Linked DNA regions of Homo sapiens: all the other regions are linked to region 3. Evidence: promoter capture Hi-C in human tissues and cell types (Jung and others, 2019). All regions are on one chromosome and are shown on one strand. The core of a region is centred on a gene start or on the middle of the fragment in contact, and the rest is flanking DNA. Distances in the headings are between cores, read along the strand shown.

What was found. The method cuts DNA at HindIII sites, captures the fragments that hold promoters and counts their contacts. A contact is called where the count stands out against the background at its distance.
Region 1: the fragment with the promoter of SHD here is called in contact with the fragment with the promoter of CREB3L3 in region 3 in 2 of the 25 tissues and cell types used here (dorsolateral prefrontal cortex and mesenchymal stem cells).
Region 2: a contact is called between a fragment that was not itself captured here and the fragment with the promoter of CREB3L3 in region 3, in 8 of the 25 tissues and cell types used here (IMR-90 fibroblasts, adrenal gland, aorta and 5 more).
Region 4: a contact is called between a fragment that was not itself captured here and the fragment with the promoter of CREB3L3 in region 3, in 10 of the 25 tissues and cell types used here (IMR-90 fibroblasts, bladder, dorsolateral prefrontal cortex and 7 more).

Annotation. Positions count from the first base shown.
Region 1 is chr19:4,277,544-4,280,604 of GRCh38, forward strand. It overlaps SHD (Src homology 2 domain containing transforming protein D), which reads left to right and starts at 1,723. Exons shown (of 6, transcript NM_020209.4): 1 at 1,723-2,817. The coding sequence starts at 2,521. The HindIII fragment of the contact is 14,506 bases long and covers 1-3,061 here.
Region 2 is chr19:4,024,929-4,027,967 of GRCh38, forward strand. The region is part of intron 3 of PIAS4 (protein inhibitor of activated STAT 4); the gene reads left to right. Among named protein-coding and RNA genes, the nearest start is that of PIAS4, 19 kb to the left of the region's middle. The HindIII fragment of the contact is 6,301 bases long and covers 1-3,039 here.
Region 3 is chr19:4,152,228-4,155,530 of GRCh38, forward strand. CREB3L3 (cAMP responsive element binding protein 3 like 3) reads left to right here and starts at 1,404. Exons shown (of 10, transcript NM_032607.3): 1 at 1,404-1,547; 2 at 2,672-2,800. The coding sequence starts at 1,521. The HindIII fragment of the contact is 37,156 bases long and covers 1-3,303 here.
Region 4 is chr19:4,047,424-4,050,374 of GRCh38, forward strand. ZBTB7A (zinc finger and BTB domain containing 7A) reads right to left here. Exons shown (of 3, transcript NM_015898.4): 3 at 1-821. The coding sequence ends at 329. Among named protein-coding and RNA genes, the nearest start is that of ZBTB7A, 18 kb to the right of the region's middle. The HindIII fragment of the contact is 9,621 bases long and covers 1-2,951 here.

The DNA.
Region 1 (3,061 bases), core at 473-2,972, 130 kb after region 3:
ACACAGCCAGTGCAGGGAAGGGGAGGAACAGAAGGGTCTAGACGCCTGCATCCTTCAGGGGCTTTGCCTTGTTGGCTCCAGGCCTCAGTTTTCCCATCTGGATAATGGAGCTCATCGTGGAGAGGAGTTGCAGAACCGATTCCATGAAGAGCATTTTGGGAGGCCGAGGCCGGCAGATCACCTGAGGTCAGGAGTTCCAGACCAGCCTGGCCAATGTGGTGAAACCCCATCTCTACTAAAAATATAAAATTATATAAAAATTAGCTGGGCGTGGTGGCAGTAATCCCAGCTACTCAGGAGGCTGAGGCAGGAGAATTGGTTGGACCTGGGAGGTGGAGGTTTCAGTGAGCTGAGATCGCAACACGGCACTCCAGCCTGGAGGACAGAGCAAGGCTCCGTCTCAAAAAAATAAAAAGAGAGACTCCAGTGCCACCCTAGGCCAGGCCCCACGGCGATGTGCAGGCAGAATCAGCTGTGGAGTGGCTCTGAACAAGTCCCTCCCATCTCTGTGCCTCGGTTTCCCCATCCATAAAATGAGGAAGCCAGGTGATAGCTCGGTCCCTCCTGGAATCCTTCCTAGAGCTGTCTGGGATTTCCTGTTAGAAACCACATCTTTCAAATAAGGAAAACCAAGACTCAGGGAGTGACAGACCCTGCCCTCAGCCCCGCCGGGCTGCCAGGAGGCCCCAGTCATAGCAGTGTTGGTTCTGACTTCTGTCTTGTCCTCCAACTGTGCTCTCCAAGCTATGACCTGTGCCTGACCAGGGGGCTGGCCACAAGAGGAGAGAATCTGGGGTCCCATCCTTCCTGACCACCCCTCTCTCACTCCCCTCATTAGGAGGAACTGGGCAAGCCCCCTTATGGGGAAAGAAAAAAAACGGTTCTGCACTGGAAAATTGGCCAGTGGCTCCCTTTTCCTCTCCCACCCCCCAAACCTCTCAGTGCCCTCACCCTCAGACAACGACAGCTGACAACAGGCAGCCAGTTCAGGCCAGACCCCTCTCACTTCTGCCCCTCTTCCCGCCACCGCTCCCCCCCACCCCGCCCCCAGAAGCCACAAAAGGACAGATGCAGAGGACAGGCGCCAGGCACAGATACCATCTCCCTTCCCCAAGCCAGCTGCCCCCAACCCTCCCCCTGCCCGCAATTAGTCCTCTGGGGCGGGAGCGGGGCACAGAGCAGAGCCCTCTTGGGGGAGGGGAAGCCCGATCCGCACCCACCCTTCCTTTGCCCCCCTCTTCCTTCTGCTGCTCCAATATCAATTTCAGCCAGTGACCTCTCCACCAATTTGCACATCCCCACTCTCCCGGTCCGTTTCACCGCCAGACATCGGTTCCATTTCGACCCTCACTGGCGGTCATTCCCACCCCCTCTGCTGGTCAATTTCACCCCTTTTGGCGGTCAAGTGCAGTCCCCCATTTCCCGGGCAATTTCCCCCTCCCCTCCTTCTCCCTCTCCCCTCCCCTCCCCAGCAGTGTCACTCCCAGCTGCTCCCCACCTCCCGCGCTCCGCGCTCGCTGCGGCCAGTCTCGGGCGTCCCGGTCAGTGTCCAGCTGCCGCGGCCTCGGCCCCGGCGACTCCCGCCCCCAGCCCCCCTTCCCTCCGCGGGCAGCGGCTCCCTCCCTCCCCAGAACAGCTGAAGGTCTCAGTCACCTCCGAGGGGAGCGCAGGGGGAGGGGAGGGGCGGGGGACGCGGCGGAGGGGAGGTGGGGGAGCCTTGACGCTGCTGCCCGGGACGCGGCCCGGGGCTGGTGGGAACAGGGGCGTCCTCCTGCGCGCCCCCCTCCCCAGCGTCCCACCTCCCGGCGGCGGCGGGGAAAGTCTCTCCGAAAGCGTGAAGGGGGATTGGAGGAGGTTTTTATTTCCCTTTGTGCGGGTGGCTGGGGCCGGATCGAGGCGGCGGGGGCCGCGGGACTGGGGGCTCCCCGCTGAGCCGAGAGGAGCGCGACAAAGGATGCGTCCCGCCGGGGTCACAGTCTCCGCGGCCCAACTTTGCGCGCGGCGCCCGCGCCCCTGGGGAGCCCGCCCGCTGCGCTGAGAACCCAGGCGTCCGGGCTGGGAGAGGGGCCGGGAGCGTCCGCAGGTGGCGCTGGCCCGGATCTCCCGACCCCAGGAAGGGATCCCGGAGCTTCCTGGAGGCGGCGGGCGGCCGTGTCGCTCCAGGGAACCGCGCTGCCCGCGGAAACTCCGCGCGCCTCCGCGGATGCCCCTCGCCCTAGCCCCCAGCGCGCGGGGTTCGGGGCCCTGCGAGGTCCCCCCTTCCCCCGCGGTGCTTCCCAAGCTGGGCTAAGGCGGGCTTCTCTTCCTCCCTCCTCTGTCGCCTCCTTTTCCTCCCCCTCGTTCACCTTTTCCTTCCCTCTATCCATCCAGAGCCCCGCCAAAGGGCGCACCTGATCTTTCTCATCCTTCCCTGCTCTTCCCTTCCTCTCCACCTCCTCCTCCTCCTTGGGGAAAGGGGCCCGGAGAAGGGCATGTGGGGGCCCCTCTGACAGTGGCCCGATTGGGGTGACAGGCGCCCAAATGGCCAAGTGGCTACGGGACTACCTGAGCTTTGGGGGTCGGAGGCCCCCTCCGCAGCCGCCCACCCCGGACTACACCGAGAGCGACATCCTGAGGGCCTACCGCGCGCAGAAGAACCTGGACTTCGAGGACCCCTATGAGGACGCGGAGAGCCGCTTGGAGCCGGACCCCGCGGGCCCTGGGGACTCCAAGAACCCCGGAGATGCCAAGTATGGTTCTCCCAAGCACCGGCTCATCAAGGTGGAGGCTGCGGATATGGCCAGAGCCAAGGCCCTTCTGGGCGGCCCCGGGGAGGAGGTGCGTGGCTGGGTGGCCTGGGGAGACTGGGTGGAGGGGAGGCTCAGGATGGGCTCTCTGGATCGTGGAGAGCTTATTTTATGTGTGATCACAGGAGGGGACTGGGGCACCAGACAGACCCTTCCCAGTCCTCCAGACCTCCACCTGCTTGGGGAAGTCTGTTCTTTTTATGTATTTATTTATTTTGAGACAGTCTCCCCCTGTCACCCAGGCTGGAGTGCAGTGGTGGGATCTCGGCTCATTG
Region 2 (3,039 bases), core at 216-2,715, 130 kb before region 3:
CTAATCTTGTATTTTTAGTAGAGATAGGGTTTTGCCATGTTGATCAGGCTGGTCTCGAATTCCTGACTCAGGTGATTCACCCACCTCAGCCTCCCAGAATGCTGGGATTACAGGCGTGAGCCACTGCGCCTGGCGGAAGTCAGGTTTTTTCCCAGTTATATAATGAATACGGGGTTTCCCCCTCCATACCGTGGATAGTGAGGTGGGATGGTTCCCTCGGTGGGGCCGTCCTGGGCACTGCAGGCTGCTGAGCAGCATCCCTGGCCTCCACCTGCTCTGTGCCAGGAACACCCCTAACTCTGACAACCACAGATGTCCCCAGACACAGCTCGGTGTCGCCTGGGGCAGGGTCGTCCTCAGATGAGGACGGTTGAACTGTGGCAGGTGAGGGGCCAGTGTGGCTGCCCTGCGCTCTGCTCCTCCCTCAGTCTCTCCGAGGCTGTACTGCCTCCAGCTGAGACAGATTCCTGCTGGGCAGGCTAATGGTAGGTGCTGGGCCCTTAGGACAGGGGAGGCCATTTGCCCAGGTCACCCCTGAGTCCATGGCAGGGCTGGGCCGGGCGCCCCCATTTAATGCCTAGCTTCTCGTGCCCAGCCGCTTCAGACCCACCGCCCCCACCTGCTGTGGGGCCAGGTTCCTGGGGCCTCCCAGCCTGGCCCTCACACCTAGTAAGGGTTCAGATCCAGCCGAGCCAGGCTTGGCCATGGAGGCCTCTCTGCCTGGGTGACCCAAGGTGGCGACCTCGTCTTTCTCAGCCTCGTCTTCCTTGTCTATGTACCTGGGTCAGCACAGCCTCCACCTGCACTGGGTCCCTGCTGCAGAGTGCTCAGAGCCAGCCACACAGTATAAAAAAATCAGTTTGGGCTGGGCACGGTGGCTCACAACTGTAATCGCAGCCCTTTGGGAGGCCAAGGCAGGTGGATCACGAGGTCAGAAGATCGAGACCATCTTGGCTAACACAGTGAAACCCCGTCTCTACCAAACATACAAAAAAATTAGCCGGGTGTGGTGACGGGCGCCTGTAGTCCCAGCTACTCGGGAGGCTGAGGCAGGAGAATGGCGTGAACCCGGGAGGCGGAGCTTGCAGTGAGCCGAGATCCTGCCACTGCACTCCAGCCTGGGCAACAAAGGGAGACTCCGTCTCAAAAAAAAAAAAAAAAAAAAGTTTGGTTTTCTCCTCAGAAAGCTTCTGGACATTTCTTTTTCTTTTTCTTTTTTTTTTTTGAAATGAAGTCGCTCTGTCGCCAGGCTGGAGTGCAGTGGCGTGATGTCGGCTCACTGCAACTTCTGCCTCCCAGGTTCAAGCGATTCTCCTGACTCAGCCTCCCGAGTAGCTGGGACTACAGGTGCGCACCACCACGCCTGGCTAATTTTTGTATTTTTAGTAGAGACAGGGTTTCACCATGTTGGCCAAGATGATCTCAATCTCTTGACCTCGTGATCCACCCCACATCTGCCTCCCAAAGTGCTGGGATTACAGGCGTGAGCCACCCTGCCCATCCCACATTTCTTTTTCTTATGTCGAGATATGATTTGCATACCATAGAATATACAGTTTTTAAGGGTGTCATCGAGTGGGTTCTCGTGGATCAGTAGGTATCGCAGCTCCCACCACTGCCTAGTCTCAGGGCAGTCATGTCCATCCCCAGCAGCTGCCACCCTTCATCCACTGGCCCCCACGCATCCCCTCCTGTCTGTAAATGGGTCTGTCCTGGACATTTCATAGAAGTGGAATCACATACTATGTGGCTTTCGTTTATTATTATTATTTAAGACAGAATCTCACTCTGTCGCCCAGGCTGGAGTGCAGTGTCGCGATCTCAGTTCACTGCAATCTCCGCCTCCCAGGTTCAAGTGATTCTCTTGCCCCAGACTTCTGACTAGCTAGGATTACAGGCGTGCACCACCACACTCAGCTAATATTTGTATTTTTTTTGAGACAGAGTCACACTCCGAGGCCCAGGCTGGAGTGCAGTGGCACGATCTTGGCTCACTGCAAGCTCTGCCTCCTGGGTTCACGCCATTCTCCTGCCTCAGCCTCCCAAGTAGCTGGGACTACAGGCACCCGCCACCACGCCTGGCTGATTTTTTTTTTTGTATTTTTAGTAGAGACGGGGTTTCACCATGATAGCCAGGAGGGTCTCGATCTCCTGACCTTGTTATCCGCCCGCCTCGGCCTCCCAAAGTGCTGGGATTACAGGCGTGAGCCACTGCACCTGGCCTAATTTTTGTATTTTTAGTAGAGACGAGGTTTCACCATATTGCCCAGGCTTGTCTCGAACTCCTGACCTCAAGTGACCCACCCACCTCCGCCTCCCAAAGTGCCAGGGTTACTGGCGTGAGCCACCTGCCTTGTGTGTCCTTTCGTGTCTGGCGTCTCTCACTGGGTGGGACATCCTCACGGTGCACCTGTGCTGAGGCCTGGGTCTGAGCCTGGCTCCTTTCCATGGCTGGGTCGCGTCCCGTGCGTGTTGGTCCTTCGGTCTACGGAAGGACACTCAGGATGCTGCTAGTTTGTGGCTGTTGTGGTCAGTTCTGCTGTGAACATCCACGGATGCGTCTTTGGGTAGATAGACTTTTTCCTCTTCTTCTGGGGGCGTTTCTTGTTAAAGTTTATCCTCAGGTGTTACTGGTTTTTGTTTTTTTTTTTTTGGAGAGTGTTTCTCTTTGTTACCCAGGCTGGAGTGCAGTGGTGCAATCATAGCTTGCAGCCTGTGCCTCCATGGGTTCAGACGATCCCCCTGCCTCAGCCTCCAAGCAGCTGGGACCACAGGTGTGCACCACCACGCCTGGGTAATTTTTTGTGGAGACAGTTTCACCATGTTGCGCAGGCTCGTCTCAAATTCCTGGGCTCAAGAGCTCCGCCAGCCTTGACCTCCCAAACTGGGTGTTTTCTTGCCATTGTGAGCCAGCTGCTAGATTCCCGCATGCACGTTTTAGCTATGTTTCTTCGCAGGGAGAGGCACCTGGCTGCCCTCTCTGGTTCAGGGTTTTGCTGTGGATTCTGTTGCATTTTCCAGGGAGGCCAGCCCCTCTCC
Region 3 (3,303 bases), core at 154-2,653:
ATATGTCATCTGCTAAAGGGGGACTTTGCCTGGGCACAGTGGCTCATGCCTGTAAATCCAGCACTTTGGGAGGCTGAAGCAGGTGGATCATTTGAGCCCAGGAGTTTGAGACCATACTGGCCAACACAGTAAGACCCCATCTCTATAAAAAAAAAAAAACAAAATTAGCCAGGTGTGGTGGTGCACGCCTGCAGTCCTAGCTACTTGGGAGGCTGAGACGGGAGGATCACTTGAACCCAGGAGTTGGAGGCTGCAGTGAGCTATGATCCTGCCACTGCACTCCAGCCTGGGCAATAGAGTGAGACCCTGTCCTCCACCAACACCAAAAAAAAAAACAAAAAAACAAAACAGGGCTCCTCTCTCTTGGTAGGGGGTGGAGGGGAGGTCAGAGACACCTCTCAGCCACCCGGGCTGATTCACAAATATCGAACATTCACTAAAATGTCAATACAGTGACCTAGAGCCAGAGGGGAAGAGGGAGGGTACAAGAGGAGAGTTCCAGGCAGAGGGGCGAGCAGGTGAGTAGGTGCAAAGGCCCTAAGCAGGAACCAGTTTGGCTCCATAAATATTTGTTGACTCAATGAACGATAGAAGATTCTAGAGAGAATTGATTGCACAGAATCACCCATGGGGACTCAGAGGCGGAGTCCAAGCTGGTTTCGGAGGGGGCTGGGGGCCGGAGGTTGGCAGGTGGGGTGAAGGATGGGAGCCGCTAGCTGCTGGCAGGAAAACTGGCTTCAGTGAAGATCTGGTCTGGTCCTCTTGGTTTGTTTCTGTCCAGGGAGTGGACAGGACCCATGTAAGGGCCCTGGGCTATCCCAGAACCCATCTGGGAATTCTGAAGAGAAAAAGTCCTGTAACTGGCCGGGTGCGGTGGCTCACGCCTGTAATCCCCGCACTTTGGGAGACTGAGGGGCCGATCACGAGGTCAGGAGTTCGAGACCAGCCTGGAAAACATGATGAAACCTCGTCTCTACTAAAAATACAAAAGTTAGCCGGGCATGGTGATGGGGACCTGTAGTCCCAGCTACTCGGGAGGCTGAGGCAGGAGAATCACTTGAACCCAAGAGGCAGAGGTTGCAGTGAGCCGAAATGAGATGGCACCACTGCACTCCAGCTTGGGCCACAGAGCGAGACTCCGTCTCAAAAAAGAAAGAAAAAAAGAAAAAGTCCTCATAAGTAGGGCAGAGGTCACGGCAGAGTGGAGGTACCCCAGACTTCGACCTTTGCTCACTGAGGGCTGGAAAACCACAAAACACCCAGATAACGGTCTTCCCTCCCCTGCTCCTGCCTGCCCCAGTGTCACTGGCCCTCAACCCTGTCTCTCCACCCTGTCCACCAATCAGCACCTGGAGGTGGGCTGGGAGCTGCCTGTGACCGCTTCAGCATCTTTTGGGAGTGGTGACAGAGCCACAGAGGGCTGTGAGCTTGCCCGGCCCCAGGTAACGCTGGCGGTGGGTGGGCCTCCAGCTTGGAGCAGAGACCCCCCGAGGCATCTGCAGACAGAACTGGATGGACCCATGAATACGGATTTAGCTGCTGGAAAGGTGAGCCCTACTAGGTCCCCAGGGAGAGCGGGAGTCTAGGCTGGGAAAGCCTACCCAAGCTGCCAGAGCTGGAAGGACCCCATCTCCACCCCTATTGTACAGATGGGAAGACTGAGGCCCAGAGAAAGGATGCAATGAGCAAAACTGTGTGCCTTTGCCCCGGGGCTGCCCTTGTCTTTCTTCCAGGTCCCCCTGCCTCCTAGGAGCGGGCACTTGGGGAGGCTGTGAAGGCCTGAGAGGCAAGCGGCATCTCTAGCTAGGGCCTCTCTCCAGCACTTTTTATTTTATTTTATTTTATTTTTATTTTTATTTTTTGAGATGGAGTCTCCCTCTGTCACCCAGGCTAGAGTGCAATGGCACGATCTCAGCTCACTGCAACTTCCACCTCCTGGGTTCAAGAGATCTTCCTGCCTCAGCCTCCCAAGTAGTTGGGATTACAGGTGTGCACCACCACGCCCGGCTAATTTTTGTACTTTTCCTAGAGACAGGGTTTCACCATGTTGGCTAGGCTGGTCTCAAACTCCTGACTTCAGGTGAGCTGCCCGCCTCGGCTTCCCAGAGTGCTGGGATTACAGATGTGAGCCACCGTGCCTGCCATACTTTTTTGTTTTTTGAAACAAGGTCTTGCTCTGTGACCCAGGGTGGAGTGCAGTGGGGTGGCCATAGCTCACTGCAGCCTCAACCTCCTGGGTTCAAGGGATCCTCCTACCTCAGCCTCCCCAGTAGCTGGGACGACAAGTGTGTGCCACCGCAGCCAGCTAATTTTTTTAAATTATTTGCAGTAGGGATAGGGGTCTCTATGTTGCGCAGGCTGGTCTTGAACTCCTGGGCTCAAGTGATCCTCCTGCCCCGGCCTCCCAAAGTGCTGAGATTACAGGCATGAGCCACCACATCCAGCCTCTCCAGCACTTTAAGAGAAATTGGCTCTCACACTGTGGAATTCTCTCTATCAGCCTCAAAGTCCAGATTTGGAAAGGGAGTCTCAGCGAGGGGCAGCAGCTGGCCCAACCCGGAGGCAGAGCGGCAACTGAACTCTAGCCGGAAAGAGCCAGGGTTATGTGCACATGGGAGGTGGGGAGGACAGGGGCTGTATGTGACCCTCACATCTGTTCCTCGCGCCCCAGATGGCTTCTGCTGCCTGCTCCATGGACCCCATCGACAGCTTTGAGCTCCTGGATCTCCTGTTTGACCGGCAGGACGGCATCCTGAGACACGTGGAGCTGGGCGAGGGCTGGGGTCACGTCAAGGACCAGGTGAGGAGTCCACTGCAGTTGCCCCGGGACCACAGAGCTCCAGGCGGGCCAACTGAGGCCCCACGAAGGTGCTAGACCCGCCAGAGCCCAGCCAGAGCTCTGCTCAGCTCTACGATGCACTAATGGGTCACGGTGCTTGATTTTAGCCAAGCACATCATTTAGCGGGTAGCATCAGCTCCTTCTTACAGGTGGGGAATGGAGGCCCAGAGCAGGGTGGAAACTCATCCAAAGTCACACAGCAATTTGGAGTTAGGTTCAAACTCAAACTTGGGGCATCTCCCTGGCTAGGTTCGGTTCTCTTCTCCTTCCTCTCCTTCCTTTCTCTCTTTCTTCTTCTTTTTTTTTTTTTTGAAGGAGTCTCGCTCTGTTGCCCAGGCTGGAGTGCAGTGGTGCCATCTCGGCTCACTGCAACCTCTGCCTCCCGGGTTCAAGCGATTCTCTTGCCTCAGCCTCCCAAGTAGCTGGGATTACAGGCGCCCGCCACTGCACCTGGCTAATTTTT
Region 4 (2,951 bases), core at 230-2,729, 100 kb before region 3:
GTGCGGGGTCTCGGATTCCTTGTGTCCTACAAAAAACCCCAAACCAAGCCCCGAAACCCAGCGATGGGGTGGTGGGGGGAAGGGGAGCCAGGGAGGGCCGGGGCCCCTGCGGAGGGAGAAAAACGTCAGAAAGGAGGGAAATCTGAGAAAGCGCTACCCTAGATTCTGTGACGCGTCATATATATATATCTGTATATATATATATAGATATAGATATCTGTATATAGATAGATTTTCTTTTTTTGTGTTTTTGGGGGGGTGGTGGGTGATTTTTTTTCTCTCTCTCTGTCTCTCTCTTTCTCGGGTTTCTGTTTTCTCTTTTTGGTTTTTAGGCGAGTCCGGCTGTGAAGTTACCGTCGGTGGCGGCCCCGGGGCCACCTCCGCTGTCACCTCCTCCACCGGCGCCCGCTACATTCAACCGGCCCAAGCCGTCGGGGCTGGCCACGTCCTCGTCCTCGTCCTCGTCCTTAAAGTGCTTCTCCTGGCCGTTGCGCCGGGCGTCGGGGGAGCTGGGCTGGGCGGGGGCGCCGGGGGTCGCGGTGGCCCCCGGGCTGGGGTCGGGCGCCCCGCCCCGGACGCGGGGCTTGCGGCCGCGGCGCGAGGGGACGCCGTTGCAGCCGTCTTTCTTGAGGTGTCTGTGCAGGTGGTCGGAGCGGACGAAGGTCTTGCAGCAGCTGTCGCACTGGTAGGGGCGCAGGCCCGTGTGCACGCGCATGTGGTTCTTCAGGTCGTAGTTGTGGGCAAAGGCGGCGCCGCACTGCTGGCACAGGTACGGCTTCTCGCCCGTGTGCTTCCGCATGTGCACCTTCAGCTTGTCCTGCCTGTGGACGGGGCACGGGGCGGGCACGGTCAGTGGGGCCGGGGACCCCCGATCCCCGCCCAGGGACCCTCACGGACACGGCAGGCCCTGGATCATCACCCTTGCAGAACACGGACCGTGCACCAGAGGTTTCGGTGCCCCGATGGGGACGGTCCCTCGAAAAACGAGACGAGTGGGGGCGATTTCGCATTCTGAACATCTAAAGAGGGCCTCGGACCCTGAGTGCTGTGTGGCCTTGGGAAAACGCTATGCCTCTCTGAACCCCGTTTCCTTTCCTTTTTTAACTTTTTAAGAGACAAAGTCTAGGCCAGGCGCGGAGGCTCAGGCCTGAAATCCCAGCACTTTGGGAGGCCGAGGCGGGCGGATCACTTGAGGCCAGGAGTTCGAGACCAGCCTGATCGACACGGTGAAACCCTGTCTCTACTAAAAAAACAAAAAACAAAAAAACAAAAAACAAAAATCAGCCGGGCATGGTAGCAGGCGCCCGTAATGCCAGCTATTAGGAAGGCTGAGGCAGGAGGATCACTTGTATCTGGGAGGTGGAGGTTGCAGTGAAACTCCGTCTCAAAAAAAAAAATTTCACTTTTTAAGAGCGAAACTCCGTCTCAAAAAACAAATCTGCCAGGCGTGGTGGCGCAGGCCTATAATCCCAGCTACTTGGGAGGTGGAGGTTGCAGTGAGCCCAGATCACGCCACTGCCCTCCAACCTCGGTGACAGAATGAGACTGTCTCCAAAAAAAAAAAAAAAGAGAGGCAGGGTCTGGCTTTGTCCCCCAGGCTGGAGGGCAGTGGCGTGATCACGGTTCCCTGCAGCCTCGAACTCCTGGGCTCAAGCCATCGTCCTGCCTCATCCTCCAGAGTAGCACACGCACCACCACACCCTATTAAATAGCTATTAAACTATATGTGTGTGTGTGTGTGTGTGTATATATATATATATATATATATATATATATATATATATATGTAAGTTTGAGAGATGGGGGTTGAGCTACGTTACCCAGGCTAATCTCAAACTCCTGGGCTCAAGTGATCCTCTTGCCTCGGCCTCTCAAAGCTCTAGGATTACAGGTGTGAGCCACTGCGCCCGCCATGAACCCCTTTCCCTACCACAGAAGGAGACAGTGGGCTTCTGCCACTCCATCCTGCCCCTACCCCTGGGGTAGGATGAGGCCAGCCAGTGCCTGGTGCCTTCATTCATGCCACAGACCTTTGCCGAGCGCCCGCTGAGGGCCAGGCCCTGTTCCAGGTGCTGAAAATACCGCAAGGAACAAGACAGGCAAACATCCCTGCCCTCTCGAGGCTGGCGGCGGCCGAGGTGTTTGGTGACAGATAGGGTGACCAACTGTTCTGGTTTTAGCACTGAAAGTCCTGCATCCTGGGAAACCCCTCTGTCCGGGACAAAGTGGGGCAGTTGGTCACCCTAGTAACCAAGTCCCCACCCCACGACACCCAGGACTGCCCACTCTCCCCTCACTTCAGCGTCACTCCCCTATCTGGGCTCCACCCTGACGTGCAAAGGTGCAAAGCACAAGCTACGCTGGGGCCTTTGCATGTGCTGCTCCCGCAGTCCGGGGTACTTTCTTTTTTCCTCCTGGATCTTCACAGTCAAATTTGGGCTCAAATGTCACCTCCTTCCCCAGCCCTGTCTCCATCCTCCTGTCATCACCACCTGACTCTTCTATTGTTTTTTTTTCTGAGACCGAGTCTCGCTCTATCTTCCAGGCTTGAGCGCAGTGGTGTGGTCTCCGCTCACTGCAACTTCCGTCTCCCGGGTTCAAGCAATTCTTCTGCCTCAGCCTCCCAAGTAGCTGGGATTACAGGCCCTCTGCCACCACACCTGGCTCATTTTTGTATTTTTAGTAGAGACGGGGTTTCACCATGTTGGCCGGGCTGGTCTCGGACTCCTGACCTCAGGTGATCCACCCGCCTCGGCCTCCCCAAACGCTGGGATTACAGGCGTGCGCCACCACACCTGGCTGATTTTTGTATTTTTAATGGAGACAGGGTTTTCACCATGTTGGCTGGGCTGGTCTTGAACTCCTGACCTCAAGTGATCCGCCTGCCTCGGCCTCCCAAAGTGCTGGGATTACAGGCGTGAGCCACCGCGCCCGGCCGGTCTCTCTTGTTT